4 separate regions of the Homo sapiens genome follow, and all the other regions are linked to region 2. The links are contacts of gene promoters, found by promoter capture Hi-C in blood cells and fetal thymus (Javierre and others, 2016). All regions are on one chromosome and are shown on one strand. The core of a region is centred on a gene start or on the middle of the fragment in contact, and the rest is flanking DNA. Distances in the headings are between cores, read along the strand shown. Region 1 overlaps DLGAP5 (DLG associated protein 5). Region 2 holds the start of NAA30 (N-alpha-acetyltransferase 30, NatC catalytic subunit). Region 3 holds the start of FBXO34 (F-box protein 34). Region 4 overlaps L3HYPDH (trans-L-3-hydroxyproline dehydratase).

Region 1 (7,471 bases), core at 3,860-6,359, 2.2 Mb after region 2:
CTCAAAAAAAAAAAAAAAAAAGGATCACTTTGGCTGCTGTGTTGAGAATAGATTATAGGGTGGTATGTATGACATCAGGGAGAGCAGTAAGTAGACTACTGCAATAACTTAGTTGATACTAAAGTATTAAAAGACAAGGGGCCAGATGCGGTGGCTCATACCTATAATCCCAGTACCCCAGGCTAAGGTGAGTGGATCACGAGGTCAAGAGATCAAGACCATTCTGGCCAACATGGTGAAACCCCATCTCTACTAAAAATACAAAAATCAGCTGGGTGTGGCGCGTGCCTGTAGTCCCAGCTACTTGGGCGGCTGAGGCAGGAGAATCACCTGAACCCAGGAGGTGGAGGTTGCAGTGAGCCAATCACACCACTGCACTCCAGCCTGGGCAACAAAGTGAGACTCCGTCTCAAAAAAAAGACAAGGGAAAACTAGTAAAGAACCAAGGAACAATGCAAAGTAATGTAAGAGGATAACCAGAAGAACGTGCTATCCTAGAAACCGAGTAGAAAAGTGCATATCGAGGAGAGACTGATTAACTATGTTAGTCAGTACTGCTTGTTAGATCAAGTATAATAGAGGTGAGAATTTGGACTTCACCACTGTGGAGGTCACTGGTGATCTTGAATAGTTTTGGTGGAGTGAGGTTCAGGGAGTGAAAGATTGGAATGGATGAGTATAATCAAACCCTTAGATATAATTTGTAGTCTGTAGAAAACATGGAGCCTGGAGGAATGAGTAAATAAACAAATACAGCTTGCAAAGACATTCAATAGGAAAACTGACTACCTTTTGTCAGTAAGACAATGGCATGAAAAGAAGAGTGGGGAGGAGGATCTGTTTTAGATGAAGAGATTTAAAAAGACATTCAAATAAAACGTGTTGCTCTTACTTGGTTCTTGATTTAAGTAAACAGATGGTTTAAAAGACCTCTTTGAAACAAATAGAGACGTTTAAATCTGGACCCTGTAATAGATAACAAGGAATTACTGCTGATTTTGTTAAGTGTGATGATGATATCGTGGCTATGAAAGGAAATGTCTTTATTTTATTTTATTTTTATTTTTTGAGACGGAGTTTTGCTCTTCTTGCCCAGGCTGGAGTGCAATGGCACGATCTCGGCTCACCGCAACCTCTGCCTCCCGGGTTCAAGTGATTCTCCTGCCTCAGCCTTCCTGAGTAGCTGGGATTACAGGCATGCACCACCACGCCTGGCTAATTTTGTATTTTTAGTAGAGACAGGGTTTCTCCATGTTGGTCAGGCTGGTCTCAAACTCCCAACCTCAGATGAACCGCCCACCTCAGTCTCCCAAAGTGCTAGGAGTACAGGCGTGAGCTATCGCACCCTTCCAGAAATGTCTTTATTTTTTAGAAGTATATACTAAAGTATTTAGAGATGAAATCTTCTAAGCATAATTTGTTTTAAACAACTGCAGCAAAATGTTCATAATTATTGAATCTTGGTAATAGGTATATGGGGTTCATTATAATTGTGTGTATATTAGAAGTTTTTCATAATTTTGAAAAGAGAGGGAATGTAAAGAGTGTTGGAAATAGGCTGGGCTTGGTGGCTCACACCTGTAATTCCAGCACTTTGGGATGCCAAGGTGGGTGGATCACCTGAGGTCAGGAGTTCAAGACCAGCCTGTCCAACATGGTGAAACCCCATCTCTACTCAAAATACAAAAATTAGCCAGGCGCAGTGGCGCATGCCTGTAATCCTAGCTACTAGGGAGGCTGAGGCAGAATTGCTTGAACTCAGGAGGTGGAGGTTGCAGTGAGCCAAGATTGCGCCACTGCACTCCAACCTGGGCGACAGAGTGAGACTCTGTCTCAAAAAAGGCCAGGCGTGGTGGCTCACACCTGTACTCCCAGCACTTTGGGAGGCCGAGGTGGGTGAATCATGAGGTCAGGAGTTCGAGACCACCCTGGCCAAAATGGTGAAACTCCGTCTCTACTAAAAATGCAAAAAATTAGCTGGGCATGGTGGTGGGCGCCTGTAATCCCAGCTACTCGGGAGGCTGAGGCAGTAGAATCGCTTGAACCCGGGAGGCCGAGGATGCATTGAGCCGAGATCACGCCGCTGCATTCCAGCCAAGGCGACAGTGCGAGACTCTGCCTCAAATAAATAAATAAATAAAAGTGTTGATAGTAGAGATACAGGTAACTCTCTTGAAGAATTTTGCCTTAAATGGGACTAGAAAAATAAGTGCTAGATGAGGATGTAGGTTGGGAGAAATTACCGCATGCTTGTAACTTCATAATGGCAACAATTCAGTAGAGGAAAAAATAGATGAGTAAGAGGATAAGTTGCTGGAAGAATGTCCTTGAGTAGGTGAGAAGAAATAGAGTACATCTATTATAATAAATAGCACCTATAATTGTATTAGTTATCCCAAAACTTAGCAGCTTAAAACAATAAATATTGATTATTTCATACAATTTTTGTGGGTCAGGAACTTGGGTATGGCTGAGCTGGGTGATTCTGAAGATAGCAGCCAAGATGTCATCCAGAGATATATCTGAAGCCTTAACTGAGACTGGAGGATCTGCCTCCAAGATGACTGACTCACATGAACAGCAAGTTGATGCTGGCTTTTGGAAGGAGGCTGTAGTTCTTTGTCATGTGGACATCTCCATAGGACTGCTTGAGTCTTCTTAAGGCCCCACATGGCACCTGGCTTCTCCCAGAGCAAGCGACGCTTCAAGAGAGAGCAAGGCAAACACTACCCTAGTTTTAGAAGTCATATTCCATTATTCCTGTAATACTCTCTTGGTCACACAAGTCAGCCCTATTCAGTGTGAGGGGATGACACAGGGCAAGACTACCAGGAAGTGAGGATCAGTAGAGGGCAGCTTGGATGCTGGCTATCATACAAGTTAATTAATTTAAAAGTGAAGTAATAAATGCCTATTACATAGCAAGCAGTTAATATTTGAACACATGAAGGCAAAATGAATACAAATTTTAAAAGACTAGGGGTTGAAATAACTTGTGGTTAGAGTGCTAAAGAATTAACAAGAAATATTAAAAGCATTTCCCTTTGTGCGGAGAGGTCTTGCTTTGTTACTCAAGCTGAACTTGAACTCCTGGGCTCAAATGATCCTTCCACCTCAGCCTTCCCAGTAGATGGGACTACAGGTGTGTTACTGTGCCTGGCTTATTGAAAGCCTTTTTTTTTTTCTTGAGACGGAGTCTTGCTCTGTTGCTTAGGCTGGAGTGCAGGGGCGCAATCTTGGCTCACTGCAACCTCCATCTCCTGGGTTCAAGCAATTCTCCTACCTCAACCTCCCGAATAGCTGGGATTACAGGTGACCGCCACCACACCCAGCTAATTTTTGAATTTTTAGTAGAGATGGGATTTCACCACGTTGGCCAGGCTGGTCTCAAACTCCTGACCTCAGATGATCCGCCCTCCTCAGCCTCCCAAAGTGCTGGGATTACAGGCGTGAGCCACCGTGCCTGGCCTGAAAGCATTTTTTAGCAGCAGTTGAAATGACACAAAAATAATTGTTTATACATTTGCATAACTTTTCATCTGAAATGTTTTATATACTGTGTGGTTTTGGTTTTTTTTCTGCCTAGGGGCAATGAAAACTATTCTAGGTGATCAACGAAAACAGATGCTCCAAAAATACAAAGAAGAAAAGCAACTTCAAAAATTGAAAGAGCAGAGAGAGAAAGCTAAACGAGGAATATTTAAAGTGGGTCGTTATAGACCTGATATGCCTTGTTTTCTTTTATCAAACCAGAATGCTGTGAAAGCTGAGCCAAAAAAGGTAAATTTAGTGTCTTAATATAAAGGAATAGTTTCTTTTATTTGGTATTTTCTTCAAGACATTAAGTGACTAACCCCTTTCCCTTAGTCTCATTATTAACTGGTTGGTAGAAGGTGGGAATGACATAATAGTAGCTCAGAAGAATGAAAATCAGGTCTCTTAAGATAGCTGTAGGTAAGTTGAGATAGGATAAAACTAGGAAAATTGGTAGAATCAGGCTGAACAATGTTATGCAAAGGATTTGGTGTTTATCCTGTAGGTTTTGCAGAATCAGGAGAAGTTTATAAATAAGGGTAGTGCCGTTGTCAAATTAATAATTCAGGAAAATACCATAGCCCTAAAGATTTTAGTCTGGAAAGGGAAGCATTTATAGATAGGGAGACCAATTGTGAGACTATTGTAATAGAATAGATGGAAAGGGGCAGTGGGTTTTAAAAGGAAAAAATAGGTGTAAGACATCTAAATAAAGGCATTTGACAGGACTGGTGGCCAAGTAGATGGTGAGGGGTAAAGGAAATTGAAAAAGCAGAGAGAAGCTCTGCTGCTAAAAGAGATAAGGAAGATAAGGAACAAGCTTAAGTGGGTGCATGTTAATAACCTTTTTAAAAATCTTAAACTTGTGTGGGCCACCTAGATATTAGTAAAAATTTGGAAAGAAGGATGGAAATTGGTGCTAAGATGTCGATTTAGGATATAATATTGGGAATATGGATGAGTGTTTAAGCTGTAGGACTAAATGAGACCATTCCAATAAGGATATATAAAATTATGAAAAAGTGGGCTCTAGAGAGCACTTTTAGGTAGGCAGAAGCCAGGTACCAGGCTGAGGACTGGTCAGAGAGGCAGGAGAACTAAGAGAGGATAGAAGCTCATATTAATGATGATTCCAATACCTGGAAAATACGGTTTGAAATTTCTTTCTCACTGAGAAATGTGAGTAATTTTTGAAGTTACTAACTTAATTTAAATCAAGCTAGAACCAGAAAAAGGAATTTAAGTATCTTTTTGCTATAAGAGATTAAGGATAAAATTTAACTTTAAAATGGGAACTTTATTTTGTAATAAGATATGGAAGTAAACCTTTACCAGTTCATATTTTAAGTTCATCTTCTTTTGACTGTTCTAAGGCTATTCCATCTTCTGTACGGATTACAAGGTCAAAGGCCAAAGACCAAATGGAGCAGACTAAGGTATAGTTGATAGTAGATAATTGTTACTAAAATGATAAATTGCACTTTTTTAGTAAGTAAATTCATTTTAAATCTAGTATCAGATTCAAACATAATGATTAATTTACTAGAGTTAACAGGTACCAAAGTCACTGTTTTTAGTATGGTGATGTAGAGCAATTTCACTTAAAATATTTGCTCCAACATTCCGTATGAGATCCATGGCAAACTGTCTTTGTGTCACACTCTTGTTTTGTTTAGTGGGCTCCTATTATGCATTCCAAGTTACCTGCATGAAATGCATATGGGGAGGAAAGCACACAGGGTAGGTGTTATAAACTTACGGGTCTTCAAAATACTGTAATAGAGATATCAGGAGGGTTACTAAAACAAAGTGAAGTGGGCAAGAAGGGAAATAATATGCCTCTTTATCAGGTGAGGAAGCTAAGTTCCACGTATGCATATATATTTTGCATTGCTATGATGTTCCTGGTGTTGTAGGCTTTTGGATATAATAAACTAAATTCTCTTTGTGGAACTTACATGTAAGGCATTTAAAAAAATACATAATATGCCAGAAGATGATAAGTATTATGGAAGAGATTTTAAAAAGGGGAGATGGGGTGTACTAGAAATAGGTATGGGGTAGAATTTTGATTGGGCAGTTAAGGAAGGCCTCCCTGAGATGAAAGCCTTTTGAGTGAAGTCATTATGGAAGTGGAGAAGAGAACCATGGGAAAGCGCTTTTTATCCAGGAGAAGTATTTTCTAGGCAAAATTAAAAGGTCTTGAAGTGAAAGTATGTCTAGGAGTGTTTAAGGACCTTCAGAAGGCAAGTTATAGTGAGCTGTTTTTAATAGCTTGGGTTATTAGCATTTTCCAAATTCTGTGATTGTGAAAAAGGATGTAAGCTTTTTTGGAAGCTTAATGGAAAGCTTTTCTTTATCTCATTTTATTTGGGGTAGTTTTTTGTTGTTGTTGTTGGGTCATTTACGATGATCAGATTTCATATGAGGAATCAATTTACAGATTAAAAATATGATGGTCTGATTCATTATGCAATTAAATCACATAGCACCTAATCTCTTAAATAGATTGATAACGAGAGTGATGTTCGAGCAATCCGACCTGGTCCAAGACAAACTTCTGAAAAGAAAGTGTCAGACAAAGAGAAAAAAGGTAGGAATATTAGCAATTACTATAAATCCTCTGAGGCTACCACAGCCATAATTTTTTTTAAGTGTCTTGAAGGTCAACTGGAATTTGTTCGTTTGTTTGTGACAGAGTCTTGCTCTGTTGCCCAGGTTGGAGTGCAGTGGCACAATCATAGCTCACTGGAGCCTCCACCTCCTGGGCTCAAGTGATCCTCCCACCTCAGCCTCCTGAGTAGCTGCAACTACAGACTTGCCACCATGCCCAGCTGATTTTTATATTTTTTGTAGAGACGGGGTCTCACTATGTTGCCTAGGCTGGTTTCGAACTCCTGGGCTGAAGTAATCCTCCTGCCTCCCAAGTAGCTGGGACTACAGGCATTGCACTACCATGCCTGGCTTCACAGCAATAATTTCATAACTACAAGGGACATTTGATGTAGTTATTTTTTTTTCCCACAGTTGTGCAGCCTGTAATGCCCACGTCGTTGAGAATGACTCGATCAGCTACTCAAGCAGCAAAGCAGGTTCCCAGAACAGTCTCATCTACCACAGCAAGAAAGCCAGTCACAAGAGCTGCTAATGGTGAGAACTATTCCTTGATCAGTGACTGAACTAGAATGTTTGGTCCTTGAGGTTTTTGTGTTCCGTTTCAAAAATCAACAAGTACTTCTTTGAGTAGGAGAGAAGGAAACAGGAAATTCTAATACCTGAAAATAGATTCTGTGCCCTGACATCTGGTTAGCACACAATGGGTGCCCAATCATTGAAGACCTTAATTAGTATAAGCAGTGTTTCAAAGTGAAAAATTAATGGTCCGAGTAAATCACAGTTCATTTATTTGGTGCAATACAACGTAGCCATTAAGAATAATATTATTAAAGAACACTTAATGACATGGTTCATGATATATTAAGTGGGCAAAGAAAAGCAGGTCAAACTCTGAACAGTAGGATCGCAGTTCTAAAAAGCATTATGGGAATATGTGGACATAGGACTGGAAAACCATACCCTGAAGTGACAGCTGAGTAATGGAATCCTGGGTGATTTGTCATTATTGTTCTTTGTAGTTTTCTGTTATTTTTCTAATTGTCTGTAATAAATATGTACAGGCTGAGCAACCCTAATCAAAACATCCAAAATTCTGAGCATTGACATGAAGTTCAAAGGTCATCCTCAAAGGAAATGCTCTTGGAGCATTTCAGATTTTAGATATTTGTATCAAGTATGCTGAACCTGTAAGTATAATGTAAATATTCCAAAATCTGGAATCTAAAATATCTCTGGTCCCAAGCATTTTGGATAAGGGATACTCAATCTGTATTTGGTATTCAGATGAAAAGGGTAAAACACTCTGGTTTTGAAAAGAGAT
Region 2 (6,813 bases), core at 3,734-6,233:
CAATGCTGATAAAAAGTTCTAGTAACACAGTATTTCTGGTAAATATAAATAGGGCAGTATCTCCAACTGTTTAAATAATGTGTCAGTAAGAAGTCTGTTTTCCATAAATTAACTTTCCAGAAGAAACTATTTCAACAAAAGCAGAAATGAGTCAAAAAACTAATAAGTAATGTCCAATTTATAATTAATACATATTTTAAATTTGTGACTTTTTTAGTCTGTCATTCTGTAAATTGATTAAAAGGCCTTTTTTTAACTGTGGAGAAATCTTTTCAGCAAGATAATTCTAATCCATTTCATGCAAACCTAAACTAGGTCGGAAAAATCCTTTTGAAGGAATATGAAATTCAACAACCCACGCTAATTCATTTCTGGTTTATCACACATTCCAAAACTATTTTGGGTCAATAAACCTCTGAAATTGTTATTTCTAATTTTTTCCCTCACAATACATCAATCTTTTAAAAAAATTTTTTAAACAAAGACCTGAAGTATGCACAAAAATCGCCTCGACCAACTCTGAAAGCTTTTTCTGATTTGAAACTCACTTCAAATATATGTGCGTATATACAGACACGTATAAATACATACACATACATAAAATTATCACAGACCAAATGGTATATTTAAAAGGGCCAGAAAAAATTTTGGCCTGACCTCATAAGCCAGGCTCAGGTGAAATGAAAACCTGTATTAGATTGATGATACAAACCTCAGAATAGCTACACCTTATATAAAACTATCCAAAAATGAGGAAAAATTAAAACCATTAAACACAATACAACTGGACAGTACTTTCAATCTGAACAGGAATTTCAAACAAATCTTTGTCCTTTGAGCATGGAATAAGCAAACAAAATATTAAATTAGTTCATTCTTAAGACCTGATTTCTTCCTAATTTAGAATCTATAGGAGCAAAAATCAAGCTGTATACATCATCTAAAAAGCCCAATATATCATACACCATTACGATGACATTAGTAGTGAAGACCAATGCTGCATTTTTTTTTCCTGATAAACTACTCATGAATATGTGGTACATTTACAGGAATCACTAAATTGCTTGTCAATTTTTCCAAATAAAAGCTCTGCATATACATTTGGAATTCACGCTATTAAATGTATTTTTTCAAGGATGGGAACTGAAAAATCCCCGGCAAGATTAAGACTTAACACTACAAGGCCAAAGGGTTGTCAGTCTATAAAACTATGAAAAAAATAAAGTGAGAGATTCCCAAATTCTAGAACACTACAAATAGAAAACTGGAGGAAGCCAAAAAGTTAAATTTAGAACAAATAAATGGAAGTACTATGTTACATTTGCTGAGAGTAAGTTTAAGAACTTCAAAAAGATACCAACAACTGAAAATGTTACTATGAAAACAGGTAAAGATAAAATGGTTAAGTACAGAGTAACTGAAAGTGTCTCACATTTGTCCTTTTTTTTTTTTTTTTTTACATCTTTTACAATTAGGAAGAATCATAATAAGCTATCATTTTTATTAATCAAGTATTGGCAATTTTGTAAGGTTCAACCCCATATACTCCATTGACCCATTACAGGTTATCCACGGAAAACGGAACATTTTGGAGGTTTTTAATCTCTTGAGATTGATGTAAGGGCAACTGTCCCTTGGTGAAGATAACTTGGTGACACAATAATCTTCACTGAATGGATCAAGGGTATGTCATTTTTCAGGTTCTTGTTTGTTACCATAATGAGAGGCCAGGAGAACTGGGTTCTAGCTTTACCCTTCCGACGGTAAATATCTGGAGATTGAAACATTTTAAGTCACTTTGGTTCTTAACTTCTTTTCAATCAAAAAACAAAACAAAACCTACCCCTCTGTCAGTAAATATCTGGAGATTGAAACATTTTAAGTCACTTTGGTTCTTAACTTTTTTTCAATCAAAAAACAAAACAGAACAAAACCTAAGTTGGGCTAGATTATCTCTAGGATGGCTTTCAGTTCTAAAAGGATATGATTTAAAATAAACAGACATTTACGCATCTGTATTTTTAAAAAAATAGTTCCTATGGGAAACTTAAATTTAAAAGTATGCCAAGATAAAGGCTTCAGTTTTAAATGGCCTGGTTGTTTTTTTACTGTTTTATTATTGTTTAATACCTCCTGATTCATACTTGCACCAGTAAATCTTATAGGTCAACCACTTGTGCATATCGCAATTCTAGATACTCAGAATATTAAACAAACTTGAGCTACTAAAGGCTAACATACACATTAGCTGGTGAATTGGGAGGGTTCTACATAAAATCAAATCTAAAGTTTACTAATATTGTTGACCAGAGTCTAAAATAGCAAACAAGTTGAGAGAGGCTTAGGTAACTATCAGGACTCAAAGTTGACTAAATATCATATACACAACTATTTCCTGGAATTGACAGAAAAACATCTATTTCAACTTGAAATGTGACTCAATCATCTACTTCTGTGGGTTAACTTACAACTAAATCTACAATTTTTAGCAATTACAGTGGCATTTGATATGACATTTATAATAGTGCTATAAATCATTTTCTCATATTCATTGACACAGACATGTCTTAGAACTATTCTGATACAATGCTTAGAATACTGAAAGAGCAGTTTTCAAGAATATAAAGTAGTACCCACAGTTTTAACAAATGTACTGAATTGAAGTTTAAGCAAGTTAAGACAGAAAATAGAACTACCATTATCTACAATACCCAGGTTACATTTTCAAATTATCACCAAGCTAGAGAATCAAAAAGATAAGTATTGTCAAAATATCTTGCAGGGAATTACCAAGTGAAACTAAGCCAATGCTAAAACATTAAGTAATGGTGGCTTTTCCCTTCACATATTAAAAAATATTCCTTAAAAGGATGTCATCTTTCTGTAGTAAAATTCAACAGAAACAATATGCTTGTGAGCACATGATACAAAGCATACACCTGCAGTCAACGTTTAAGTTAAAGGGTTCATACAGACTGAAATGGGTCAATATTATTGTGAAGAAATTACTGGTACTGCCAATACTATGTTAATTTTTAAAAACCGTCCAAAAGTCTTTCACTTACGTGTAATATTATTGTCAATTATACTCTACACAAGCCAGTGTTACTAGTGTTTGGCCACATCTACAACCAGTTTCTTAAATTAAAAAAAAAAAAATCAGATCGGTAACAATTTCACACAAGTTTTCTACATTCCACAAAAGGGTATTTTGTTCAAGTTTCAGGAGTCTTTCAGCCACCAGAAGTGTTAGTAGCGCTTTCTGGAATGGAGTACCAGAAAGCAGGCTGGCTACAACTGTTAATTGTCCAGTTGAAGTAAAGAGAAACATCTCCATAATTACCGAAAATGCTTGTAAGATTTAATTCTCCAATATGACCACACCAAGTTTGCTGACATCCATGTTCACCACAACATGTTTATGCATACACTCTTCCCTGATTATGGTTGTAATCGAGAGACTAATAAGGCCTGTATCTGAACAGAACCATGTTCAAATTAAATGACTGTAAAGTGTTTGAGGATGCGGGCGGGTAATTAAAGACGGTTAAACACGATTATAATCTAATGTAAACAAGACACAAGACCCCCACCCCAGTGAAACACGCCACCATACAGGCTTGCTGCAGTTACACTAGTATCACGTTAACCCGAATCATGAAGTCTTACCTTCAAAACAATTTCATTAAATAACTAGGAATGTGTACAGCACTTGACATCATATAACGTACTATGATACGCAGCAGGAGATATCCACTGCCACATTCTGGGCCCTCACTCCCTGCCCCGCACAGTCTCGATCACTGCTGGGTTCACCCTCTTTTTATTCTATCCACTTACCAAGAAGCACAGCTGTGGCCAGTTGTGGATAAAATATCTATAGGTATAAATGGAGTAGGGTTCGGACAGATCTTTGGTGATCAGTCTCATGATATCGGGCATTTGTAGCTCGGATTCATATCGGACATATCGTATCGTCCGATCCTCCCCAGGCTCAACCTCCCTGCCCGAAGGGCTTCTTAAGCTGCAGTCGGCGGTCAGGGACGAAGACAGCAGCCGCACCTGCTCGTCTTCCTCCTCCTCCTCCTGCTCGGTGCCCTCGGCCAGTCCATTGCGGGCCGCCGCGGGATCGCTCGCCGCCGCTGCCTCCACCGGGCTGGGGACCGCAGTTCTTGCATTACTAGAGAGGGAGTGAGGGGGCCTCTCGCCCGAGTGTACCCCGGCTCCTTTTGTTGCAGTCGCTCTGGGGCCTCCGTCAGGGGTGGCTGTGGTCGCGGCCACCTCTGCTACGCTCAGGACCTTGCTCTTGAGGGAGGCGGCCGCCCGGAGGTGCCGCAGTTCGGGGCTAATCAATCCGTTGAGCTGCTGCTGCTCCTGCGGCGGCTGAGGGCAGCGGAGGCACGGATGCCCCTTGGCCGCCACCGTCGCCGACTCTCCGCCCGCCGGGCTCCTGCTGCCGCCGCCTTCGTGCTCTTCGTCGTCCTCCTCGTCCTCGCTGCAGCAGGCGAGGGCGGCCCCCGCCGGGAAGGGACAGCGGGGCTCGACCGCCGCCGGGGCCGGAGGTGCTGGTGGTGGGAGGAGGCTGCTAGGCCCAGGCGGTACCTCCGCCATCCTAGAAGCGACACAGACCGAGAGGGGAGGCCATGAAACCCGGCCGAGGAGCGCGGAGAACAGGGGGCGACGGATGGGGGGCGGCCGAGGTGGGGGGAACAAAGGCAGAAACCGTCCCTCACGGAGCTGCCCCCCAATTCCCCGCCACCCCCCCGCTCTTCAGCGCCGCCCAGCTGCTCAGCCGGCCACCGTCCCCGTCCGCCCGGGCCCACCCGCCAGCCCTGTCACTCGCGGCCCCTCCTCACGGCTCACCCCGCACGGGTCCCCGCCGCCGCTGCCGCCACTCCTCTTCCTCCGCCACCGCCGCCGCCTCCTTCGCAGCCGCGGCAGCCTCCACAGCCGCCAAGGTTCTCACTCAGCCGCCGTCGCCGTAAAGCGCCTCAGCTGTTAGGCCGGGTAAAGTTTCCTGGGCCTGGCTTTACGACACTTCCCTGCCTGCCGGCTGCCCGGGCCAAGAGAGAGGGGCGTGGAGGGAGGTGACCTGTGGAGGGGCGGGGACAAAGGTGTCTCCTGCGGGCTGCGGGGAAGGCCGCGTGCTAGTGGGTGGGGCTGTGGGGCCGGGAAGTTGCAGAGGGCTTTGGAGTCACAGGCTCCCAAACCCTCTTCCTCGGTTTGGGGGCGCCTCAACCTGCGGTGCTTGCCACGCGGGGCCGGGGAGGGATGGACCGGGCAGGCGCTCCCTGCTTAAAGTCTACCGCGCACTCCGAGCTGTAGCGAATCTCGCCAATTCGGGGCCTGTGGAACAAGCCGTTTACAAGTCACCTAAAAATGCCCTTTTAAAGCTGCACAGCGTTTAATGTTTGCCCTGACCAGGGGCAAGGAGGATGGGGGAGGAGCGATTAAAAATGGAGCAAATCAGAGAAGCCGACCGAAAAAGAAAGGAAGATTTGAGCTGTGAAAATATGGGGATGGCTGTCGAAACGTGGTGGTTTGCAGTGTGAATTAAGTTCAGCTGGCCCTTGCCACTTTGAGGCAAGGGAGTCAGCCCTCTTCCTCTCCCTCCTTACTCTGCTCCTCGCACCCAGTAAAATTGGAGGCAAAAGTGACTGACAGGTGTTGGGCAATTGCTAGCACACCTGGGGAAGGGTTAGAGAGAGGTGGTGAAAGAGAGTGACCAGGGCTAAGAAGCACACTCCTAAACTTGTGACACAAATAGGTTAGGAAGCACTGGTAAACAGGTGGCCTGATCCTCCCAGGGGATCTGCCTATCGAGTGCAAAGGGGATAGAACTTGAGCTTGTGGCTGGGCGCCTTCTGCTCTAGTCCACAATTGACTCCCGGCAGGTCTGAGCTGAGACAGGTAGTGTAACTCACCCGCTCACTGAACAAATTCGGTTTTGTTAAAAACCTGATTTATAGAGCTGGTCTGGTGTGCCGCAGATGGACGTTTTCAATATATAATTCTATGACGGAACACGTTTGCAACTTTTTGCCGTAATCTAAACTCTATGTATAAAGTATTTATTATGCTCGCAGATTCTGTGCCTCTGAAATCCAGACAGAGCACAACTGGGATGGCTTTTCTCTACTCCATTATGCGTAGAGCTTCAGTTGGAAGACTCTAAGGCTGAGGAGTAGAATTATTTGAAAACTTCACTTTCACCGCTGATGGTTGATGCAGGATAAAGGCTGGAGGCCTCAGTTCTAGTCCATGTAGACCTCTCCCGGTGGTCTTTTAGCATTGATTGGTTTGGGCTTTGTCACAGCCTGGTGGCTGGGTTCCACGGCAAGTATCGTGCGAGAAAGTCAATCAGAAGCATATTACCCATTATAACCTAGCCTTAGAAGTCATGTAGTCTCTAGCCAGGTGCGGTGCCTCACGCCTGTAATCCTGGCATTTTGGGAGGCCCAGGCGGGAGGATCTCTTGAGGCCAGGAGTTCGAGACCAGCCTGGCCAACACAGTGAAACCTCATCTCTGCCGAAAAATACAAAAATTAGCCGGGCGTGGTAGCTCATGCCTGTAGTCCCAGCTACTCAGGAGGCTGAGGAGAATCACTTGAACCCGGGAGGCGGAGGTTGCAGTAAGCCGAGATTGCGCCACTGCACTCCAGCCTGGGCAACACAGGGAGACTCCCTCTCATCAAAAAGAAACAAAAAACAAGTTATGTAGTGTCAGTTCTGCTGCATTGTATCTAGGCAGACACAAAATTATATCCAGTTTTGACAGGAGGGGAAATAGACTCTACTCTTGGTGGAGAGAGG
Region 3 (6,570 bases), core at 900-3,399, 2.1 Mb after region 2:
TTACACCCTCCAAAAAACCTCCTACCCTGACTTAAGTTTTTCTAAATCAAATGTCTTATACTGAGCTGTACTCGCAACGCTTGCTGGACAAGAAGTTAAAGAAATTGACAACTATTACATTAAAATTGCAAAATGCTGATACCGAACAACTTTCGATTCAAATCCACTGCGATTCCAAGCGTTCGTGGAAGACAACTTCCTTTTTCTACCCTGCGGGTCCCCCCGGCCCTTCCGTGAGCCCAGGTCCCCGCCCGGGCCTGCAGTGACATCCCAGGACCCATCTTCTGACGTCACAGACACACGGACCCACAGCCCTATGACTTCATCGTGGACTGAGGACGAACCGCAGTCGACTTGCGCCAGCCCAGAGGCTGGGGAGGCGTCCGAGCCTCCGTCCCGCCTCGTCGTTGAAGAAGGTTAAGGACAAGCGCCAGCTCACCTGCGCTGGGGCAGGGAAGGGCAGAGTGGCCGAGCCCGGGAGGGCGCGACAGGGGCGAGGCGACCCCAGTCCAGAGGCTGACTTCCTCACCGCCCTGGGTCCCGTAAGTGGGAGCGCCGGTCCGGTGCAAGCTCACGGCCTATCCGTGAATCTCCTCGGCTTCAGCGGGGACCCAGGACCCCGCTCCCTACCCGCCCGACCCTCCGTGGCCCGCGGGGACGCTCAGCGCCCGGGCCGTGCGCGCGGAAAGAGCCGCACCGGAGGAGGCGCAGGCGGCCGGGTCCCTACCCCGGACCCGCGGGCGGCGCCCCCGCCCCCACCCCCACCCGCCCCGCGCCCCGGGAGCGCAGGCAGGCGGCGGTAGGGGGCGGGGAGCGGCCACGGTGGCCGCCGCCGGACCCCAGTCGCGCGGCCCTCGCGCCACGCCCCACCTCGGCCCGGACCCACCTGCGCTCCTGCCCCGGCCGCGGCCTGGCCCGGGGCTGCACCAGCCCGACGCAGTGGTGGCGGCAGCAGCGGTGGCGGGAGGCCTGGCTCACTCCCCACCGCTGAGTCGGACCGAGCACCCAGCGCGGCGCGGCGGCGCCCAACGCTCGCCCCGAAACCCATTTGTTTGGCTAAAACGGAGTGACGTCACGCGCCGGCCCAATCGACGGTTGGCCGGGGGAGGGGCCACGGATCCAGAGTTTCACGGCGCCCCCTGCCGGACACTGGGGGCGGGAAGGGGGAAGTGAAAAGGGAGACCTGGATGACGCGTCTGCGGCCCCCAAGTGGTAGAGAATGAAAGTTTGAGCACGACTGTAGGGAAAGGAATCAAACCTCCCAGGCCAGCCAAGAAGGGTAGTGACGCCAGGGTTCAATCAGCAGACATGTCAAGTTTATGAATATTCGTGGGTGGACCTGAAGCTGTAAATGGTCTCAGATACTATTAGATAACCTAGTAGACCTGGATCCTCATACTGGTTCTGCTGCTAGCTTGGAAGGCTGGGGTTCAGAGTTTCAATTTGTAAAATGACAAAATTGGAAAGGTCCCTTCTGACTCTCTTTCCTATGAAAATCATGGCAGGGATACCGGTCAGAAAGTAGATAAACGTTGAGGCTGACACGAAACTGTTAAAGTCTGTAGAAGCTTAAGGGCTGGTTAATGATGGATATAAATTTTTAACACTTTATATTCAAATCAGAGGGCCAGTGAGGAACTTTTGATTCCCAATCTTTAAGCTTATTATTGTTTTCATTGTGAAAATAATATTAACCACATTGAAAAACATGAGGACAATGTATTTTCTTCTAGACCTTTTGCCCCATCACATATATTTTACTACACTGTAATAGTAGTTGTACGCGATTTTGCATCCTCTTTTCACTTTTATAAGCATTCCTCATATTTCCACATAAGCTTCATAACCAGTTTAACAGCTGCATAAAATTACATTAAGTGGACATAAAATTTACTGCAGTAATTCTCTATTTTTGGACATAACTTGTTTCCTTCATTCACTTTTTGCCATTATAAAGAAATCATAGAACATCTTCATGAATGTAGATTTTTAAAGATACCCAAAAGTGAAATTACTAGGTGAAAAAGACTATCAACACTTTCACAGTTACTAATACAAACTGCCAAATGATTTTTAAAAGGTTGTACCAAGTTACACTTAAACCAGCAACTTTGATTTTAGCCAGTCCTTAACAAAAATAATTTTGTCCAATTATAAAACTACTGTTGTAAAATATATGTGTAAAATCTTAAATATTAAAACGTAAAAACAAAATAAAAATATTTCCCATAATCTCATCACCAAGAAATAACCACTCAGTATCTCCATCTAGACCTTTATCTATATACATATTTTTAATAAAAATTGGAGAGGGGAAGTCCAGGCACGGTGGCTCACATCTCAAAAAGGAAAAAAAAAATTAAGGAAGGGTGTTATATGGTACACCGTGGCATCAAACTGTATGTCTGATTTAATATGTGAGCAATATTAGCTCAATATATCATGATCATTTGAAGCTTCTTTATGTCATAGTTAGCTCAAAATTGTAAAACTTCAGTTTATCCTTTCAGATTCATCTCAAACACTGTCCTTCTTAAAACCTCTTGATTCCTTCTGGGCATGGTGGCTCACGCCTGTAATCCAAGCACTTTGGGAGGCCAAGGCATGCAGATCATTTGAGGTCAGGAGATCAAGACCAGCCTTGCCAACATGGTGAAACCCTATCTCTACTAAAAATACAAAAATTAGCCCGGTGTGGCAGGGCACGCCTGTAGTCCCAGCAACTTGGGAGGCTGAAGCAGGAGAATCGCTTGAACCTGGGAGGTGGAGTTTGCAGTGAGCTGAGACCACACCACTGCACTCCTAACTGGGCGACAAGAGTGAGACTCCATCTAAAAAAAAAAAAAAAACAAACAAAACTTGATTCCTGTTGATTAGAGGACTCAAAAAATTGATATAAAAATGAAATTAATTTTAAAAGACATAATAAAAGCCCGAACTATTAATTATTATATTTTTTCATCTTTTTCTTGAGGCAGGGTCTCACTATGTTGCCCAGGGTGGTCTCAAACTCATGGCCTCAAGCAATCCTCCTTTCTCAGCCTCCCAAATAGCTGGAATTACAGGAGTGAGCCACCATGCCTAGCCTATGAATTATTGATTATTAAAGTCCACAGACATAAAATTATTCTGTCAAATTGCTAGTAAAGTTTCTAAAATCTGATTCTCAATTTCAGTTCTTGTCTCAGATTGGCCAGTGAACCACACTTTAAATAGCCCCAGTCTAGGAGAAAAGAACTAGGAGAGAGCATAACCATGTTAGGCAAGAACTTCCCTTGATTTTGTTTCTCCATTTGTATAATGGCAATGATCCCCTAGAAGCAAAGCCAGTAGAGCCAGTATAGTTTATCAACCCACAGGTCCTGTGGTAGGTCTTCAGGAAGGTGCTCCCCAGGTGGGCATGGGGTGGCACATTGAGGCCATGGGACTGGTGAGAGCCGAAAGAAGAACAAGACTGAGGTGGCACAGCAGCAGAAAAGTTCTAAATATATATAGTATATATATTTGGTTATTCCATTAGTAATTAAAACTTAGTTGTTTCAAGCCAGCAAACATATTAATTAAAACTCAGTTCAAGGGATTTGTCTTGTATAGACTTGGTTTCATTTCTGTTCTTTGCTCAGAAAAAAAAAAAAAAAAAACTAAGAACTTACTGCTTATTCCTTAATAAGCTTACTCCAACCTCCAAATAAAAACACCCACTGCTATGGTTTGAACGTGTCCCCCAAAGTTTATGTGTTAGAAACTTAATCCTCAATGCAACAGTGTTAAGAAGCGGGACCTTTAAGAAGCAATTAGGTCATGAGGGCTCCGTCCTCATGAATGGATTAATGCCATTATCAAGGGAGTGGATTACTTATCAAGAGAGGGAGTTACTATAAAAGCAAGCTTGGCCCTCTCTATCTCTCACTCTGTTAGGTGTTCTCTTGCTCTTCCACCTTATACCATGGGATGATGTAGCAAGAAGCCCCTCAAGAGTTATGAACCCCTTGACCTTGGGCTTCCCAGGCTCCAGAACTGTAAGAAATAGATCTCTGTTCTTTATACATGACCCAGTCTCAGGTGTTCTGTTATAGTAGCATAAAACAGACTAGGACACCCACCATTTCATCTTCTCTCTCTCACCCCCCAACCCTCCTTATCAAACTTACTTCCCCGCTGCTGGAGAAAGGAAACCAAGAGACAGGCTCCATTAGACTTTGCATCTAGACCTACTTTGCTGCAGAACCTAGGCCGCTGGGTGTGATAATGCCTTTCCCTACCTACTTGACTGTGTTATTATAAAGACCAAATAAGAAAAGAGAAGCAGAAGTGCTTTTAAAAGTTTCAACTTTGCAAAAGTAAAGCATGTACTTAAAAAATATGCCTGGAATGTGGCCGTTGGAGCATGCTTCAAGCCCTGAGCTTATGCCCAGGTTTATGCATGTGTGAAGCTCATTGGTGATGACGGGGGGATGGGCAGGAGCTACTCAGCCATGAGAATATAAATATTATCCACAATAAATAGAACAACTCAGGGAAAACTAGAGCACCAAGGCAGCACACTGTCTAACAGATATGATTCTATCTTATAATTAAGATGTGGATGGTGAGGGACATAAAGTTGAATAAGTATTGAAACCCAGGAAATCATAGTTCTTATCCTTCTTATCCTTCTTTTTAGATCTTGTGCCCCTGTGAAAATCTGATAAGAGCTAAAAATCAAGAGTCTCTTTGGAGACTCTTAGCAGAAGTAAAAAAGCACACCCTGATATATACAGACAGTTTAGAAGATAATTTTAATTTTTTTAAAAGTTCCTTAGATTAACTTATCTTATAGTGATCTGCACTCTCATGGTGGGGCGGTGTAAGAGACATGTAGAGCAAGGGCAGCCCTTCCAGTACAATGGATGGGAAACAAATCAAGGTCCCAGATCCTCCTATCCCCACAGTATTGCCCTCAGAACATTCAGAAGGTGGTTTCTACACTGTCAATACAGTGAGCCACACAATTTCCATAGGTATCTCTCTTTTTTTTTTTTTTTTTTTGAGACAGGGTTTTTGCTCTGTCACTTAGGCTAGGCAGCAGTGGCACCAACTCGGCTCACTGTAGCCTTGACCTCCCAGGTTCAAGTGATCCTCCCACCTCATCCTTACAAGTAGCTTGAACCACAGATGCTCGCCACTGTGGCTGGCTAATTTTTTATTGTTGTTGAGATGGGGTCTCCCTATGTTTCCCAGGCTGGTCTCAAACTCCCAGGCTTACATGATCCTCCCAACTCAGTCTCCCAAAATGCTGGGATTACAGGTATAAGTCACTGTGCCCATATTTCACTTCTGATAGCATATAAAAGGAGAAATTCTGGCCGGACGCAGTGGCTTATGCCTGTAATCCCAGCACTTTGGGAGGCTGAGGCAGGTGGATCACAAGGTCAGGAGATCGAGACCATCCCGGCTAACATGGTGAGACCCCGTCTCTGCTAAAAATACAAAAAATTAGCCAGTCGTGGTGGTGGGCGCCTGTGGTCCCAGCTACTCCGGAGGCTGAGGCAGGAGAATGGCGTGAACCCGGGAGTCAGAGGTTGTAGTGAGCTGAGATCACGCCACTGCACATCAGCCTGGCAACAGAGCGAGAGTCTGTCTCAAAAGAAAAAAAAAAAGGAGAAATTCCTTCTCTTGCTAAAGTTATAAGCAAGGCTTAGACTGAAATCGTCACATTCTTTTCATCAAAATTAACACTTGGGCAGATTAGATAACAGGCCACAGTGGTCTCCAAGTCCCTCCTTAATGTTTGAATTTTTACTAGAATTCTAGGCACAAGTAACAATCTGCATTCCTGATGTCCCTACATTTAAAAGCTCTATGTAGTCTATGGAACTCAAGTGCAGTACAACAGAAGTCAATGACAGCATTATGTTAGCTCTTCCGTCAAGTCAGGCAATCTCTGTTCCATCTCGAGGTCCCTCAGCCCGGAAGCTTCCTCTCCCCTCTGCACCTCATTGGCCCCAACACTACCTTAGGTGTTGGCTTAACAGTCTCCTCAGGGCACTGAAGGTGCCAGACTTTATATTTAGAGGGATTTTGGAGGCACTGGGGGTGGTGGGGGCGGGAGGGGGGTACAAAACTGGGGAACTTAATGTTAGGAACATTTGCCTAGCCAGCACAATTTTTACTTAGATATTATTTTTATTTGGGGTGGCATGGGAATGCAGTTAGAGCTTCTTCAAGCCAGGATTTCCCTAGCCTTCCTATCTAGTCGCCCCAAAATTATTCTCTTTCACAAAGCTGTTTAGTTCCTTCATAACACTAATTACACTAGAGTTTATTTATTATAACCCCTGTAGAATGAGAGCTTTGGAAAACATGGGAACTGAGTTTTATTCATCACTTTATCCCAATACCAACCTCGGTGCCTAATACCTAGAAGGTACTCAATAAGTAATGGTGATGTCATTGAGCATATATATATATATATATATATATATATATATATATATATATTTTTTTTTTTTTTTTTTTTTTAGATGGAGTCTTGCTTTGTCGCCCAGGCTGGAGTACAGTGGCGTGATCTCAGCTTACTGCAACCTCTGC
Region 4 (7,158 bases), core at 3,956-6,455, 2.1 Mb before region 2:
TCCCATCCGCCTGTGGTTTTGGGAGACCCTTGAGGAGCGAGGAATTGCGTGTTACCCTGACTCAGCGCCTCCCTCTGCACTGGTGAGGCATTCCTAGAGATTTCACCGGTGGATAAAGCAAGGTACGGTGGGGTCAAGGAAAGAGCGAAGAACAGCCAATGTACCAGGGTTCCAGGCTGGCTGAGAATATGCTTGGTAGACACAGAATCACACTTAATAAGTTACTAAACCTGGTCTCCTTTCCTCACCTCCCCCACTTCTTTGAAGAATTAAATGAGAATGAATGAACAAAGCAGTTTATAAATCATTAAGATACGAATGTTGCTTTTCTTTAAGAACAGGAACACACATTGCCTGGTTTCAAATCCTGATAACCCCCTAAAGCTGTGCAACCTTAGGCAAATTACTTAATCTCTCTGTGCCTGTGTTTCTTCTTTTCCCTCATAGAGTTTTTTTGTTAGGATTAAATGAGAGTATGCAAGATACTGTATTCCTGGAGATAGATTGCAAGGTTTATATGATCGCTAAAGTTCCCTAGGCCTATTGAGCCATTAAAAGGTTTTGCTGGATTCTCTAGTACAGATCCTTGTACAGCTTATCATGTAAAGCAGGGCATCTCTATAACCATAACCCTTACAGGAGGGATGACCTGGCAAGCTGGCATCTGGTTTCTCATCAGACTACTACCTCCCAGGAGCTGAATTCTATCAGTAAGAATGCTTTAGTCATTGTGACTGGAAGTGAGCCAGGAGCCAGTTTACCAGGAATAGAGTTATCCTTTTCTTAAAAATCTTCAAGCCATGCAAATCATCTGTTAGAAAGTTGGACCTTGATTCCCCCTGAAGAACTAGGTTTCAGATTAGCCTGATTATGAATGATAACTGATAGAACAGGCACTTTTAGAGCAACCTTAGGCAGCTGAAATCCACGAGTTAACGAAGAATGCCTCTGGAGAAATTGATGCCATTTTCCCAGAGAATGGTGTCACTTCCAGACTGGGAGGCCACTTGAGGGAGACAGAATTTATGTTTACGATTCCATTTTTAAAACCTCAACAGTTTAACTAGCGTGGCTACCAGAATTCCCCCTAGGCAACTCCAGCAGCAGAGTAGAAACACTCTAGACTTCTGTAGGAAATGGCAGCTGGCAGCAGGAACACAAACTACATCTCATTTCTGGGTCAGTTAGGGCAGGGTCAGTCAACCACTTGACCTCAGTAGTTCCTCTCAGTAGTTCCTGAGAGCATCACTGTATGACAGTACAATGATTAGTGGGCATTAATGGTCACTGAGTTAAGAAAATGAAATGCTATATTCTCTACTTTGAAAAATGCATACAAGGCAGACATAGTGTTCAAGGTCACTGCCCCACCTCTCCCCATCTCAGTGACCTTGTGCTAGAGAGTCCATGCCTCAGTATCACAGTCTGCAAAATGAGGATGACAACAGTACCCACCTCAGAGGGTTGCTGAGTTCATCTCCACCCCACCAGGCTAAAATGCAAACTCTTTCTTGTTCACAGTATTCTAAGTGCCTAGAAGAGTAGTCAGTCAATGAATGTTTGTTGAATGAGTAACTAAATAAATGAAATTTGGAGAAGAATATGCTGATTGACAAATGTAAACATCTGGTCCTCTTGAGAAACCTATTGCCACTGGAAATTAAAGTTTTGGCTTTCGAGTCCCTAATCTGTGCCAGGAACTCCCCATACGTGGAATTTTCAAAACAACTCTTTTAGGAGAAATAGCAGTTACAGTTTGCACAAGACACCAAAGCCACACTAATGGCAGAACTAGGGTTGGAACCCTGGCCTATCATATTGCTTCCCTCTCATCCTTAAAATTTTTTGTAGTTTAAGGAGATATGTTTCAATTTTCTAGAATAGTGCTTAGTGTATTTTAAAGCATTTTAAAATCTGTCTTGTCCAACTAAACTCCAAGAAGGGGAAAAGCCTATGTTTTATTCCTTGTACTTCTCGTATCTTCTACAGTAATCGGCACATAGTAGGTGCTCACTAAATCTTGAGCAAAGTAAATCAAATTGAAATTTCAGTGATATGCTTGTATAGAAGAAAAGAAAAACCCTTAGATTTTGGATTGTGTTCTGGATAGAGGTTGTATATTTTAGTAGAAAGGGTTTGGGCTTTGGAGTCACCTGGTCCTGGGTTTGACCCCAAGCTCTGCCACTTATTTAGTGGGTAAACCAGGGAATAATGTAAAGATAGTAAGTAAAACAGTACCTACCTCTCAGGGCTGTAGTAATTAAGGCACTAATGTAATGAATTAAGGGGCTAGTGTATGTAAAGACCTGCCACATAGGAAGTACTCATGGGTGAAATAAATATCTTAATTTTTAATGTTAGTAATTTAGTGATTAAAAAATGAAATAGTCACAGATAATTGGTGGACAAGAGTAACTTTAAAGGAAATTTGGTCCATTTTAAAGAAAAGGAAACTGAAACTCAGTGAGGTGTAGCACCCTACCCAACTGCCCACCCTAAGAAAACCAGACCCAAGATTCTAGAAAGGTTGGGCCAGGGAAATGATTGTAGGCTCAGGGATGACTTCTCCTGAACCAGCTTCCCAATTTCATCCTGGTCCCGGGATTGGTGGCCAATGCCCCATTTAGTTGTTACAATCAAGGGAAGAGGGCAGGCCGACTGAACCCTGGGACCGTCACCTGTGTCTCCTGGTAAGTGCTGATCTTCACCCTCACTTTAGCTTTCCACCTTCCAGCAGTCCCTCATTTCTATCAACTTGCCCATTCTCTTTTCATTAAACTTGCTTTTCATGTTGCGCCAGCATCAAGATAAAGACATTTTTTATTCAGTTTTGTTGTTACAATCCACAGCATGTTTTACTCTTTTGATTATAAACTTGCTCTGTTTTAACACATCATGGGTTAAAAGGGCTTCTGTGGACTAGTGTGGACTAATAGCATACTGATAGCCTTCTGTGGACTGATAGCATACTGATATCTTTGTATGACCTTGTATGAAAACTCAGGAACACAAGATATATTTTCTTTCCCAAAACTTAATTTCTGAAGCTGAAACTCTACTCTGTCCTTTTGGTTCACTTAGCCTCATCACTCCATGTGTTGTCCCCTTTCCTGATATGTGTGAGCAAAGGTTTCTTAAAAGTGCTGTGGCCTTGGAGAGGATGGCACTTCAGTCCTCAGCTTACACAGTTAACCAGCAAAGTGGAGCAGGAGCATTGGCTGCCCCACCCTACCTGGTCCTTGCCCTCTGCACTGCCTCCCCATCCTCTGTTTCTTCACTCCTGCTCCTGTGGTGCCCTGGGGGAAGTTAACACACGTCCTCTCTGCACTAAGGACCTTCAGCCTCCACTCTTCTCAAGGGAGAAAAAATTTATCTCTAGGAGAAATATTTCTCCCTTCAGGACACTCCTTTGCCAACAGATGTCTTTCCCCTGAGAGCTTAGGCTTCCCTAAAATAAAAACATGAAAGACAAGCTTTCTCCCCTGCCATAGGCTTCCCTAAAAGGCAGTGATCACCAAGCTAGCTTAAATTAGGGAAGAGGAAAATTTGAGAAGGGGCGAAATAAACATCACCCAGCCCCCTTTCTTTGGAAATACAGATTCAAGATTTCAAACTACTGACCTTCAGGTGAAACTTTGGGGATGTTGAGACTTAAAATGCTCAAATAAAAACCCTGGTGCAAAATGATGCTGTAGCAGTCAATGATTCTACAATGGCATTTTTCTGTGTTTGCCTGCAGGATACCTTAAGGAGATGAAAACATGTAGATAAGTGTATATAATTTATATAGAAAAATCTTTTATTAAAATTTATGTTTTGACATTACGGCTGAAGAAAATTGATTTGTAAATAGGATCCAAGACCCTCACTATTTTAAACCATCTCTCATAGTACAAGTGGGGAATAGACATTTTCCTTCTTAGTGTTCACAGGGATGCCCTTGGGTTTCCCTCTCTCGGCCTCAGGGGTGTTTCCTAGAAAAGATCCTCAGGGAAGTTAATGAATATGTCTGTATGAGTTAGGGAAAGCATGGCTTTAGTTTATAACTTCTGCAATCATCAAGTTAAAAATAGAATGATGCATCTAGCTATTATTCACTCGATGCTTATTCATTTAAAAAACGGATTTTTACTTCATTATTTTTATGATAGGAAAAGAACATCCCTCTTGAAAAATAAACATATTAAAAATCCTTTGAATTTTATTGCTAAAATACTTATTAACAAACACATCTTCTTTCCAAACACATCTTTTTTTTAGATCTCATGGTGGATGTTCCTGGACATGGAAAGGTGATGGTGGACATTGCATATGGCGGTGCATTTTATGCATTTGTTACTGCTGAAAAGTTAGGACTAGACATTTGTTCTGCAAAGACCAGGGACCTTGTGGATGCAGCGAGTGCAGTGACAGAGGCAGTGAAAGCTCAGGTCAGTAATACTCTGCCTTCATAACCAATTCCCTTCTCTGTGGCATGGAGGAAATATACATTATTATGTCTATAAAGAAAATTAAATGATGTTTAAATTATTAATAGTACTAAGAATAGGGTACTTATTAAAATCTTAGGCTCTAGAGCAAGCTTGTCCCACCCGTGGCCTGTGAGCCACATGCAGCCCAGGATGGCTTTGAATGTGGCCCAACACAAATTTTGTAAACTTTCTTAAAACATTATGAGTTTTTTTGCAATTTTTTTTTAGCTCATCAGCTCTCGTTAGTGTTAGTGTATCTTATGTGTGGCCCAAGACAATTCTTCTCCCAGTGTGGCCCAGAGAAGCCAAAAGATTGGACATTCCTGCTCTAGAGCAAAACTATCTATGAGTTCTAGCTTTACCACTGGTAACGTATATAACCTTGGGCAAGTTACGTAACCTCCATATGCCTCAGTTTTCCTGTCTGCAAAATGGAAATTAAAAAATACCTGCTTTGTAGGGTTGTGAGAATGAAATAAGTCAATACATGTAAAGGACTTAGAGTAGTGTCTGGCCAATAGTAAATGTTCAGTAAATGATAATATTATTTTTTTTGAGACAGGGTCTTGCTCTGTCACCCAGGCTGTAGTGCAGTGGTGTGATCATAGCTTACTGTAACTTCAAATTCCCAGGCTCAAAATGATGCTTCTGCCTCAGCCTCCAGAGTAACTGGGACCACAGGCATGCCCCATCACACCCAGCTAAATCTGTGTTTGTGTGAGTGTGTGTGTGTGTTTATATAGAGACAGGATGTCACTATGTTGCCCAGGATGGCCTCAAACTCCTGGCCTCAAGTGATTCTCCCAGCTCGGCCTCCCAAAGTGTTGGGATTACAGGTGTGAGCCACCACACCTAGCAGTTACTAAATTTAATAATACATACATACTAATATAGTTTATAGTTCCTTAAATGTGTAGAAATATATTTATAGAATTCTGCAAATTTTAAATGCATGTGTGTGGTCATTCTGTTAAACTTGAAAATAATAAATGTAAAATATAGTGTACAGAATAGATTTAAGCCTTTTTCTTATTTCATAGAGAACATTAATTCCTATTATTTTTTTCCTACATTGCTAAGAAGTTACTCAAATAACTACTTAAATAACTCTAGTTTTTACTTGGGAAAGCTAATTTGATAAAATCAGTTTAGATAATAATTCTAGGATATTCTTTCACTTCTAGCACGAGTGAAGCACATTTTACCTTGAAATTGGGACCTATAAATAAAACACATGTACAGTATTTGAATGTTTAGTACGTGAGAATTTAGTATGTGAGAATTTATTAGTAGTAAAAAGTAACTTGTGTAAGATAGTGTCTAATGTACGAATAATTATCATTTTCTGAAGCTTTATTTTAAAATAATTTATAACTTAAAATGAGAATATACACTGTATCAGTATTCTAAATTATTTTTCTGGTACTGCCAGTACCAATATGTGCAATTATATTATGATAGCAACTTTTGAAGCTCTGAATTTACATCAGTTTTCTGTTCCATTAAGCAGGACAGCTAATAGTCTGAGTTAACAATTTGGCACAAAATAATTTCTCCTAATTTTTCATGAATTCAAGAGAAAAAGTCATGGATATCTTAATAAAAGGTGTAATTTTGTACTTCTCATTTGAGTTTGAACTCAACAAGATGGCAAGGGGTGGACTTTGAGGGAGGAAGGATTCTGAGAAAAATGAGGACAAGTTCTGTTATTGATGTATCAGACAGTACAATTAATTACTCTGTGAACTGTTGACTATTCACACTGCTGAAGCAGATTTAGGAAAAGGCCATGGGGATGGAGAGTTAAAGTTAATATAAATTCATCTTAATTCATTCACTCTTTTAACAAACATTTACCACAAACATACTGTATATATGTTAGACATTCTGCTAGATCCTGGAGACTCGAAGAAAGAACAAACCCCACCTTTGAGGAGCTAGCTCCAGTTGGGGAAGCGAGCATACCTGTGAACAGTGTTATGTTGGAATGTGCTATAGTGGAGGTGGGGCGTATCACTTTAAGAGGATGGAGAACAAAGATTCAATCTGCAGGCCGCTTTAACTTGGTTTCAGATGGACTCTTTGGATGTTAAGAACCCAAAGCTGTTCCATTGCTTTAAATGACATGTAACTGGAAGTAGAAAGTACTAATTGTAAGCATATACAAGGGAAGTCAGATTATAGCAATCTCAGTCATACTGTAAATGTTTGCAGAAATCCAGGAAAAGTTAAAGAACTAGACTTCCAAGAACAAGTAGCTTTGCATATTTGGGCCTGAATCTACCATTGAGTGACTTAGCTACCCTGCCAGTGCCTGCTTCTTTGTGTGCATATCTGCTGCTTTTTGATGAATCAACTGACTTCATCGTCTACAATAAATCTTTTTTTCCTCCAATTGTTTCTCTTGCCTAATAGTTTCTGCATTCTTACAGAATGTTATATCCTCTCACAGCCTTTGTCTCTATCATTGGTGTTAACTTCAGCTCTAGATACTCAGAGCCTGATTTTCCCACATTATCCTCCTTAAGCTCCTGAGAATAAGACTATGATTGCCTTAGCTCATCCTGTTTGAGCAGCCATCGCCAGCCTGTGGATTGACCATCCTGGGGTCAGTGCTGCAAAGACTATGTGTATTTGGGGTGGGAGGGGTGTATAAAATAGGACTGCTTTTTTAGCAAAGGCTATA

What was found. Contacts are between HindIII fragments. The CHiCAGO score rates a contact against its expected background, and 5 or more counts as called.
Region 1: a contact is called between a fragment that was not itself captured here and the fragment with the promoter of NAA30 in region 2, in 1 of 17 cell types (fetal thymus). The highest score is 6.4, in fetal thymus.
Region 3: a fragment that was not itself captured here is called in contact with the fragment with the promoter of NAA30 in region 2 in 4 of 17 cell types (fetal thymus, naive B cells, total CD8 T cells and 1 more); the score reaches 8.8 in fetal thymus.
Region 4: a contact is called between a fragment that was not itself captured here and the fragment with the promoter of NAA30 in region 2, in 1 of 17 cell types (total CD8 T cells). The highest score is 5.2, in total CD8 T cells.

What each region holds. Positions count from the first base shown.
Region 1 is chr14:55,179,869-55,187,339 of GRCh38, reverse strand. It overlaps DLGAP5 (DLG associated protein 5), which reads left to right. Exons shown (of 19, transcript NM_014750.5): 3 at 3,587-3,780; 4 at 4,908-4,970; 5 at 6,043-6,127; 6 at 6,562-6,684. Among named protein-coding and RNA genes, the nearest start is that of DLGAP5, 8.0 kb to the left of the region's middle. The HindIII fragment of the contact is 1,505 bases long and covers 4,357-5,861 here.
Region 2 is chr14:57,388,756-57,395,568 of GRCh38, reverse strand. NAA30 (N-alpha-acetyltransferase 30, NatC catalytic subunit) reads right to left here and starts at 4,983. Exons shown (of 5, transcript NM_001011713.3): 1 at 4,864-4,983; 2 at 3,841-4,612. The coding sequence starts at 4,611. RefSeq lists silencers at 4,456-4,605, 4,736-4,875 and an enhancer at 4,004-4,999. The HindIII fragment of the contact is 6,905 bases long and covers 529-6,813 here.
Region 3 is chr14:55,265,854-55,272,423 of GRCh38, reverse strand. FBXO34 (F-box protein 34) reads right to left here and starts at 1,003. Exons shown (of 2, transcript NM_017943.4): 1 at 887-1,003. It overlaps FBXO34-AS1 (FBXO34 antisense RNA 1), which reads left to right and starts at 346. Exons shown (of 2, transcript NR_184222.1): 1 at 346-542. RefSeq lists a silencer at 452-951. The HindIII fragment of the contact is 618 bases long and covers 1,841-2,458 here.
Region 4 is chr14:59,476,454-59,483,611 of GRCh38, reverse strand. It overlaps L3HYPDH (trans-L-3-hydroxyproline dehydratase), which reads left to right. Exons shown (of 5, transcript NM_144581.2): 2 at 4,261-4,430. Among named protein-coding and RNA genes, the nearest start is that of L3HYPDH, 4.4 kb to the left of the region's middle. RefSeq lists an enhancer at 2,645-2,744. The HindIII fragment of the contact is 1,241 bases long and covers 4,585-5,825 here.